Linked DNA regions of Homo sapiens: region 2 is linked to region 1. The links are contacts of gene promoters, found by promoter capture Hi-C in blood cells and fetal thymus (Javierre and others, 2016). All regions are on one chromosome and are shown on one strand. Each heading gives the region's core, a stretch centred on a gene start or on the middle of the fragment in contact. The rest is flanking DNA. Distances are from core to core; before and after follow the strand shown. Region 1 holds the start of IFTAP (intraflagellar transport associated protein). Region 2 holds the start of LOC107984325 (a long non-coding RNA gene).

Evidence for each region. Contacts are between HindIII fragments. The CHiCAGO score rates a contact against its expected background, and 5 or more counts as called.
Region 2: a contact is called between a fragment that was not itself captured here and the fragment with the promoter of IFTAP in region 1, in 1 of 17 cell types (fetal thymus). The highest score is 6.1, in fetal thymus.

What each region holds. Positions count from the first base shown.
Region 1 is chr11:36,593,252-36,598,008 of GRCh38, forward strand. IFTAP (intraflagellar transport associated protein) reads left to right here and starts at 1,251. Exons shown (of 6, transcript NM_138787.4): 1 at 1,251-1,341. It overlaps RAG2 (recombination activating 2), which reads right to left. Exons shown (of 2, transcript NM_000536.4): 2 at 1-944. The coding sequence starts at 917. RefSeq lists an enhancer at 1,158-1,297. The HindIII fragment of the contact is 5,310 bases long and covers 1-2,113 here.
Region 2 is chr11:36,669,111-36,674,057 of GRCh38, forward strand. It overlaps LOC107984325 (a long non-coding RNA gene), which reads left to right and starts at 1,779. Exons shown (of 3, transcript XR_001748186.1): 1 at 1,779-2,412; 2 at 2,888-2,975; 3 at 4,077-4,352. The HindIII fragment of the contact is 1,775 bases long and covers 1,042-2,816 here.

The DNA.
Region 1 (4,757 bases), core at 1-2,500:
TCTGGGGTCTCCATCTCACGAATTTCTATCTTGTTGTCCTCTAAAGAGATGATGTTGCAGATCATTCTTTTTTGATTTTCAAGCTGATAGCCACCAACAATAACAAATTCATCATTGTTAGTTTGAGTCAGGATTGCACTGGAGACAGAGATTCCTCCTGGCAAGACTGTGCAATTCACAGCTGGGCTACCCAGGGGAAGATCAACCCTTATTCTGTACAGGTTGGCAGGCCGGATATTATTGGCAAGTGAATGTCCTCCTAAAATATAGATGGTGTCATTTTTGGCAATAGAGACATGAAAAGATAGCCCATCCTGAAGTTCTGGAAGAATGTATGATGTAGCACACCCAAATTCAAAATCCACCAGGAAAACACAGGGCAGGCAGTCAGCTACACTATTCCATTTTTCTGTGGTTCTGTGGGTAGAAGGCATGTATGAGCGTCCTCCAAAGAGAACACCCATACTTTTCCCTCGGCTGTACACCACATTAATGGAATGACCATATCTGGCTTCAGGAACATCTCCTACCAAGTCTTTCTCTGTGCAGCGAAAAGTAACCTTTTTGTTGTTCTTGCAAACAATAGACATGACATAAATCTTATCTGAAACCTCATTGTTTGGTGTTTTCCCTCCATGGATGATGTATTGATGCTTTTCAGACTCCAAGCTGCCTTTGAATGTGCAAGTGGCTGGGTAGCGAAGAGGAGGGAGGTAGCAGGAATCCTTAGAGAAAATTGTAGGCTTCAGTTTGACATGGTTATGCTTTACATCCAGATGGAAAACTCCAGTGGGGCAGGATCTTTTGGGCCAGCCTTTTTGTCCAAAGAAGAAAACTTGTCCATCAAAATTCATCAGTGAGAAGCCTGGCTGAATTAAGGCTATGTTATTACTGACTGTTACCATCTGCAGAGACATAGTTTCTGATGGTACGTAGATTTTTGTCTGAAAGAATTATAAAATAAAATGACTTAGAGATCGCTTCATATAATCATCGTATTTAGATTCCTTCACATGTGAATAGCATTTTTTTAAGTCCTCCCACACGCTTGCAGTGGGACTGAATGAGGAAAATCCAAGGAGTTAGGTCAGTAAAGAGCCACAGAACCTTTACTGCCATTCCATCCAAGGAGCTGGGACATGTTTTAGCCACGGACTATATGCTCCCTAGGATTTCTGGGAATTGTAGTCCTTTTCCGTAAAGAGTCACCATGCGTCAGCTGAAAGAACCACATTTCCCAAGAATCCGTTCTCTCTGGGATGTGTAGCTTTGGAAATCTGTCTTTGTTGCTCTGGGAGAGGGGACTCCTGGAATGTGTCTGTGAATAAAGACTAGCCGAAGGTGCGAAGTGACTAGACGGGAGCAAAGGAGGAAAACTAGGGAATGGGAGGTGAGAGTGGCTGACACCGACCCAACGTCCGGGTTGCCGGAAGGCTGCAGCGCCCGGAGCGGTGTCGGGCAAACCGCTACCCTGGTATTGCTGGAGCCTCTCCTGGGGACTTTTGAACAGGTGACCCGATAGGAAGCACAACTGCTTCTGTTGGAGTGCGGTTACCTGGAGACCGCAGTCTGAAGGGACTCCCGGCAGAGATGTCGTTACGGTGTCCTGCCTGTCTGGATGCTTAGGAGCGCGACTCAAAACTACACCCCTGACGACCCTGGAGGTGCTTGGGGCGGGAGGTTGAAGGGGGCACCGAGGTTACAAAAGCCGTGACTGTCTTACAGAACCGAAAGATGGATCTTTGAATCCCTAGAGTGCAGGGGAGACATTGCCTGTTAAAGATGTTTACCACTTCTACATTTAGTAATAGAAATACAGTTATTAGGTTTTAACGAGTGCACTTTGAAGGTCCTTTGTTTTCTTCACTGTTTTTACTCCTGTTTTTAGGGTTCTTTTAGGGAAGCAGAGAAGGTTCCTAAACACATCTTCTTTTCATCTTCATTCTAGGAAAATAGAGTTAGTGGCTTTTTCACATCTTTCCAGTCCAAGAACTTTTGGGTAATTCTTTAATAATTCTGTAGTAAGTAAGCAGGGACTAAGCATAGAAGTGTTTGAATTATTCAGAATTTCATACTTGTGTTACAACAAAAAGAATATTTACTAGATGAAGGAAGCTTGATAAATTTCTATTTTATTATTGTTTACCTTAGAGAGTTGTGGAATACACTCCGTGTTTGCAGTGTGATGTCCTGTGCACCAAATGTTAAAGGAAACAAAACATAGCACAGATTTCTTGACTTTTAAGAGTTAATTCTTAATATGCTTCAAAAGCAGTATAAACAATGGCTGAGTGTGGACTCTGAATGCTTACTGGCTGGATTCAAATCCTGGCTCTGCCACTAACTACATGACTTTGGGCAAGTTATGTAACCTCTGTGTGCCTCAGTTTCCTCATCTGAAAACTGAGATAATAATTTTACCAACCTCATATATTGATGTCAGTTATGATTAATAGTTGAATATACGTAAAGTACTTAGAACAGGGATTTGCATATAGTAGACGATAGTTATGATTATTTTAAAATTTACCAAAAATAAGGTCTAGTGCATACGCACCTGCCAGTAATGGCAGTTGATAAGGTTGGAGAGGATGAGAAGGGGCTTTAGGATATGGGAATCAGGTCAGTGGGTATAGACAGATAAACATTTGAACTAAAAGAATTGGATAAACATATATGATGAGGGTGCTGGTAGTAGTTAATTTATTAACAGAAGATAGTTAATATTTTATTCTTCTTGTCACCCTTTGTCTAACTGGGGATAATCTTGGTATATATTCACTGGGCTGTTTTGAGAAATAAATGGGATAGCACGTGTAAATCACATAGAACAGTGCCTGGCACATAAACACTCAATAAATGTTAATTGATACTATAATTTATCTAATTTATCTTTATTCCTCCTGCAAAGATTCCTTGGACTATTTAGAATCTCTGGTCACTCTAATGAGATGGTAGTGTTTTTTTTTTGTTTTTTTTTTTTTTTGCTTTAAAGAACTTCTGTAGATCAGCTGTAATTTACTGCTAAATAATCTCTTGTAGTTATTATTTTCAGTCTACTTGGGAGACTCGTAAGGGGGTGATCTTTCAACAATTATCTGGTGGGTTATTAAAGCAGGTGAGGAAATGGTGTCTCAGAAGGATTATTATCAAAGTTATGAAAACAAGCCTGTCTCCCTCAGTTGTATATTCAGCAAACTGCCCTGCTTATAAAATAATCTAGGCAGTGTTTTATTTATATCATGGCCTACCCAAGCCTACATGAGGGAAGGCATCTGAGCAACTATGAAAAATGCTATTCATAGAAACTAAAAGGAGACATTATTGACCCTCACTTCAGAAAACTGTAGGTGATTACACTCAGCCTGAGTGATTATGATCAGAGAGTTGTCCCATTTTGGGTGGGGGGAACACCAAAGCCAAGGCCTGCTTGTTTCAAACACCTGTGATGACTGTTATTGAGATACAAGGCAAGCCATACAGTGGTAATGGATTCCAGATCCAAAGGGATTTTTCAAGAACAGTTGTTTTAAAGCAATGTTTTTATTGTCGCCTCTTGGTTTCATTTTAAGGTTGCTGTAGGAATTGTGGCTTCTCGTAAGTGAAAACATGATTATTGTAGATTACACAGAAACATTTTCTTGGGCAAGACATAAGGAGGATTGTCCATTTTTGTAGCTTAGTCTAGGCCCCTAAAGATTTTTGAAACAGGGCTTTTGACCTGTTTTCCCTTTGATGCTCTGCTTTTGGCTCATTTCATAATTTCAAGGCCCTAAAAACAGTGGTAAAGTTTCTTATTGCTAAGATGAATTACCTCCTCTTGTAACATGGTTCAAGTGTGAGTAATTAATTTTTAGATTACTCACTTTAACCAGATGATGTATGCATTTAAAGAATAAACAGGAACATTGAAAGTGTTTTCACATGATTTTGCCACATTTGGTTTTTGAAATTTTGCTTTATCAACTTGAATATATTTTTCACTGGAGTAGACCATTGTATCTCTTCCATAGTTTCAATATGACTGTATTAGTCACACCTTGGTTTTTAAAAAGAGTTTTTAAATGATTATACTATATCTAAAATAACCTACTGAAGTCTTTTCCTTTTAATAGGCTACATAAAAACAGGCAGATTTAAAAGAATAAGATCCTGTTCTTCAGCTGAGGGAGGCTTCAAGGTCAACACATTAAAGATTCTTTGTAAAGGACAGAAATATAGGACCAATAAATATATACAATTTTCCCAACCCCATGCTAACATTCTTCAGCAGGGAGATTTTCATTTATTCTCTCTGATGCTAGGGCATAGTTGAGTATAATGAAAGGACTCATAGTATGAGGTCTGGGTTTATAGTTCCTAATATCTGAACTGACTTTTTCTTTTCCAAAGAAAGATACTGTACTGTGAAACATTAAATCTTGCTGATCCGTGCTGGCCATGTTTTCTTGATTGCTCCAGAGTAGCAAGTAACCTCATGTAAGTAACTTCAGGCATTTAATGTGTGAATAACAGTATCTTGCACTGTTAATCAGGTTTGAGGCATATATTATTTTATTTCTGCTGGCAGTAAAACCAGGATTAGGTCTTCCTTCCTGTCTTAGGCCAGAGAACGATTTATGTACGAAGATTAATAATAGTGCTCTAAAGGCCTAATAATTAAATCCCTGAAGCAGCCAGAGAACAGAAAGCCCCACATTTTCCAAATTCTACTCATCCCTTCCCTATCTAGACACCAAATCCACTTGTGACTAACA
Region 2 (4,947 bases), core at 679-3,178, 77 kb after region 1:
TAATTTTCCAGATCTGTCTTTACCTGTGGCTGTGCTTGCTTATTAGTCCCTAAAGATGCATGCCATCCCGGCCCTGTTCCTCCAAGGGCTCCACCCTGAAGCCAGTAATCCAGTTATGAAAGCGTCAAATAAAAATCTTACAAGTGCTGAATCTTCTGTCTGTGTCGCTGTGTATGTGTTTTGTGTGATGTCTATAAAAAGAGCTCCAATTAATTGGCTTAAAGAAAAAATAAGCACTGAAATATTTTTTAGTTCGTGTGACTTTAATATTTAAGCTGGTACATAACTAAAATCACTTACTGGCTGGGTGCGGTGGCTCATGCCTGTAATTCCAGCACTTGGGAGGCCTAGGTAGGTGGATTGCTTGAGGTCAGGAGTTCGAGACCAGCCTGGCCAACATGGTGAAACCCTGTCTCTACTAAAATACAAAAATTAGCTGGGCATGGTGGCGGGTGCTTGTGATCCCAGCTACTAGGGAGGCTGAAGCAGGAGAATTGCTTGAACCCAGGAGGTGGAGGTTGCAGTGAGTTGAGATCGTGCCACTGCGCTCCAGCCTGGGCGACAGCAAGACTCTGTCTCAAGAAACACAACAACAATTAAAAACACTTACTAACCAGGCTTTTCACCAAAAATAAAAGTTGCTAAGAGTTAAGAGTGCAACATGTATTTGAGATCATTAAACAGTTTTACATTCAAGGCATATAAAAACAGTGAAATGTGTTTTTTAGTAAAAGATTATAAGAAAGCATGGAAATCCAAATTTTGCCCAGGAATAAGGGATTATCTTACATTTAATAAGATAAAGCTAAATGTTTAAGTAAGTTGTGGAAAGATTGTAAAAATTAATCTTGCAAAAATGTGTAAACCTAACTAAATTCAAAAGCATATTACATGGTCTTTTCATAAATTGAGCATTGAAATAAAAGCACAACAAGGGTGTCTTAAGACACTAATCTGCCCGTTAGTAAAAGAGGTTATAAAGGGCTTGTAAAGATTTCACCTCATGGTCAAATTGGTTAAGATTAGATGGAATCATCTATAAGCTTCCATTTAAAGAAATTGGGATTGATATCAGTAAATTAATGCAAGGGTAAAATTTTGCTTAAACAGGATTTTCATGTAATAATAAAGGATAATAAAAATTTTTGCTTTTTGAGTCATCGTTTTGGCAAAATAAATAATTTATGGCAATTTGGAATTCTATTTCATAACATCAAGTGTTTTAAACCTCTAACATTTAACAGGCACCCAAAAATCAAACTTTAAGTTTCAAAATTGTCTTTCCTGATGCCTGGCTTTCTGGATGGTTCAGAGGGCCCCTGAAACATTCAGAAAAGAGGTGAACAGGATTATTTGACATGTTTTGTCACATGAAATTGCCAAAACGATGTCCAATCTTCTTTAAGTTATATTTTGATGAATAATACTAACATATGTTCCAAAATTGTATGGGATTTCTAAAATTTTAATGTCTAAATATATGCTATCAATAGTAATTAGGGGTAAAGTTATAAGCCATGGAGATAACTAAATTTCTTTGTCAGTCTTTTTTTTTTTTTTTTTTTTGAGATGGAGTCTCACACTGTTGCCTAGGCTGGAGTGCAGTATCGTGATCTTGGCTCACTGCAAGCTCCACTTCCCGTGTTCATGCCATTCTCCTGTCTCAGCCTCCTGAGTAGCTGAGACTACCGGCACCCACCACCATGCCTGGCTAATTTTTTGTATTTTTAGTAGAGACGGGGTTTCACCATGTTAGCCAGGATGGTCTCGATCTCCTGACCTCGTGATCAGCCTGCCTTGGCCTCCCAAAGTGCTGGGATTACAGGCATAAGCCACCATGCCCAGCCTGTCAGTCATGTTTTTAACTGTAACTATCCTGGAAATTTTGTCATTCAAAGACCATTTTGTCTTGCTTTGTTCCTTCTTAAAAGATAGGTTATAATCAAGCTATAAAACTTGAACAGGTGTTCTCAAATGTGAGTTTTTAATAGCCTTGAAGATTGTAACATTGGAATAGAGAAAGAATGTGTGGGACTCATGAAGAACTGAAATGTTCACGAATGTCAAGCAATACAAGAGTTAACTAAATGGACTGCACTCAGAAAGTTAAAGCAACCTTTTTGACTTTTACTTGGAATGTTGCTGATCCTTGTTTTGTTTTTCAGAGTTAAGAAAACTTATTTTAAACTATTTATGGCCTTTAATAATTGAGTAAGGTATACTCCTGCAAACAAAATTTGGAGCACGTTTGTTTCTGTCTGCCTGGTTCCTCTAGAAGTTGGAAACTGCCTGTGAGTACTCTTAACTTATGGAAATATAGTTGTTTGCATCAGTGCAATAAGATCCATTTTTCTTTTTCAACAGGACACAACTGGAAAAGCTAGTTATTTTACCAAGGCTTTGACCGAAAGGGTATGCTTCCCTTTAAGAGTCTATCTTTACTTCCAGTGCCGATAAAAGCCTCTTGGGGAGAACTGGCCTCATCCCTTGTCTACACAGTCCCCGCACAGGGTTCCTAATCTGTGGTCAGTAAAGAATGTCACTTTCTAACAGGTCCAGGAGCTCCAAGTTTATCTTGGGACTCACAGGATAAAAACTCATGGCTGGGCTTTAAGAGGTCTTATCTGAGATTCCTTTTGAAACAGAGTGCCATCAAAGCCAATCCAAAAGGCTTACATAGAAATAATTATTCTTACTGTACTTTATGCAAATAATCAGGCCAAATATAAAACTAAAGTTTATTCTACAAACAACACAATACTATCATAATTTGCTTTTACCAAAAATGGGGACTAGAGAGAGAAACTATGCTCTAAAGCTTATCATTATGCTCCAAAGCTTATCATACATTTGTCATTAAATCATAGTCTCATTAATTGTTTTTCAGCTTTTTGCCTACATTTTAGACTAACCCTGCTTATTCCTGTGAATCAAGTGGTGATCTCCTGCAGCTTGGAAGAAACAAAAAGGCATAGGTAATGTGAAAATCTAGATCAATATGCTAGTTCTGGGCAATTATCCTGTAAATTCTGCCAGGTAATGAGAGTGAATAGGGTGCCCATAACTCAGAGGTTTCTTTGTTTAGGGAAATAGAACCAAGGAACTTTATAGATCCCCAAAGGGAAATTCTATATCTTAGCAAGTAAAATTTTAGATGGAAATTATCTACTTACACCACACTTGCAGGAATTGCTCTACTCACTCTACTATTTGTAGTAGAGCTATACACAGTAGCACTGTTTTTTGTTTTGTTTTGTTTTGTTTTTTTGAGGCTCAGTTTCGCTCTTGTTGCCCAGGCTGGAGTGCAATGGCGGGATCTCGGCTCACTGCAACCTCCATCTCCCGGGTTGAAGCGATTCTCTCCTGCCACAGCCTCCCTGGTAGCTGGGATTATAGGCATGCGCCATCACACCCGGCTACTTTTTTATTTTTAGTAGAGACGGGGTTTTCCCATGTTGGTCAGGCTGGTCTCGAACTCCCAACCTCAGGTGATCCGCCCACCTCGGCCTCCTAAAGTGCTGGGATTACAGGCATGAGCCACCACGCCTGGCCGGTAGCACCTTTTAATTGAAATATTGGACGGAGAGTTTCCATTGCTGCAATATTTTTTGCTTAATTATTATCCTTATAGTAGGGATAATAGCTGCCAACAAAAGGGAAGCATGAAAGTTTTACTATCACTGAGTTTGCTAGAACTTCTTATTGGGTTTGGTAATATGTCACATCCTGGTTATGCAAAGGTTATAAAGGAAAGAGATTTTCTGTGGAAGTCATGAAAGGATTGATAATTGCAGGAAAAATGTAGCCAAGGTTAACACTAAAGTTATTCTAGCCACCCAATCCAATGCCACTTTTCCTAAAAGGAATGTTACTTTTATATGAATGTTTCTGATTATGTACAGCGACATCTAGTGGAGGCAAACTGGTATTACAATCCATTGGTGTAACTAACAGGTATCAAACTCTACTGTCATAGTTATGGTCTATAGGCCCTCCATTAACAGTGGTAATCTCGATACTCATATTCTAATCCTATATTTTAAACCTCCTTGTAAAATTTATCTCTTTTCACCTAGAAGCAATCAAACCCCAAATGGTGCTGCAGACAGAGCCACACATGGACACACCATTCTTCTGAGAACACTTAGATTGACCTCAAGAGGAGGCCCAACCACTGTCCTCCAACAAGATGCCCCTTTTTAGCAGGAAGTAGCCAGAAAGAATCGTCATCCAATACCCCCTAACGGCAGTTAAGTTTATGTCTGTAGAGGGGGGAAATAATACAGGAGTTATTAAGAAATTATTTTTAGAGGTTCCGAGATGGCTGAATAGGAACAGCTACAGTCTACAGCTCCCAGCGTGAGCGACACAGAAAATGGGTGATTTCTGCATTTCCAACTGAGGTATTGGGTTCATCTCACTGGGGCTTGTCGGACAGTGGGTGCAGCCCACAGAGTGTGAGCTGAAGCAGGGTGGGACATTGCCTCACCCGGGAAGTGCAAAGGGTTGGGGAATTCCCTTTCCTAGCCAAGGGAAGCCATGACAGACAGTACCTGGAAAATTGGGACACTTCCACCTTAATACTGGGCTTTTCCAATGGTCTTAGCAGATGGCACACCAGGAGATTATATCCCATGCGTGGCTTGGAGGGTCCCACGTCCATGGAGCCTCCCCCACTGCAAGCACAGCTAACAGAGATCGAACTGCAAGGTGGAAGTGAGGTGGGGGGAGGGGCATCCACCATTGCTGAGGCTTGAGTAAGTAAACAAAGCCTCTGGGAAGCTTGAACTGGGTGGAGCCCACTGCAGCTCAAGGAGGCCTGGTGTGCCTCTGTAGACTCCACCTCTGCGGGCAGGGCATAGCTGAACAAAAGGCAGCAGAAACTTCTGCAGACTTAAACGTCCCTGTCTGACAGCTTTGAAGAGAGTAGTGGTTCTCCCAGCATGG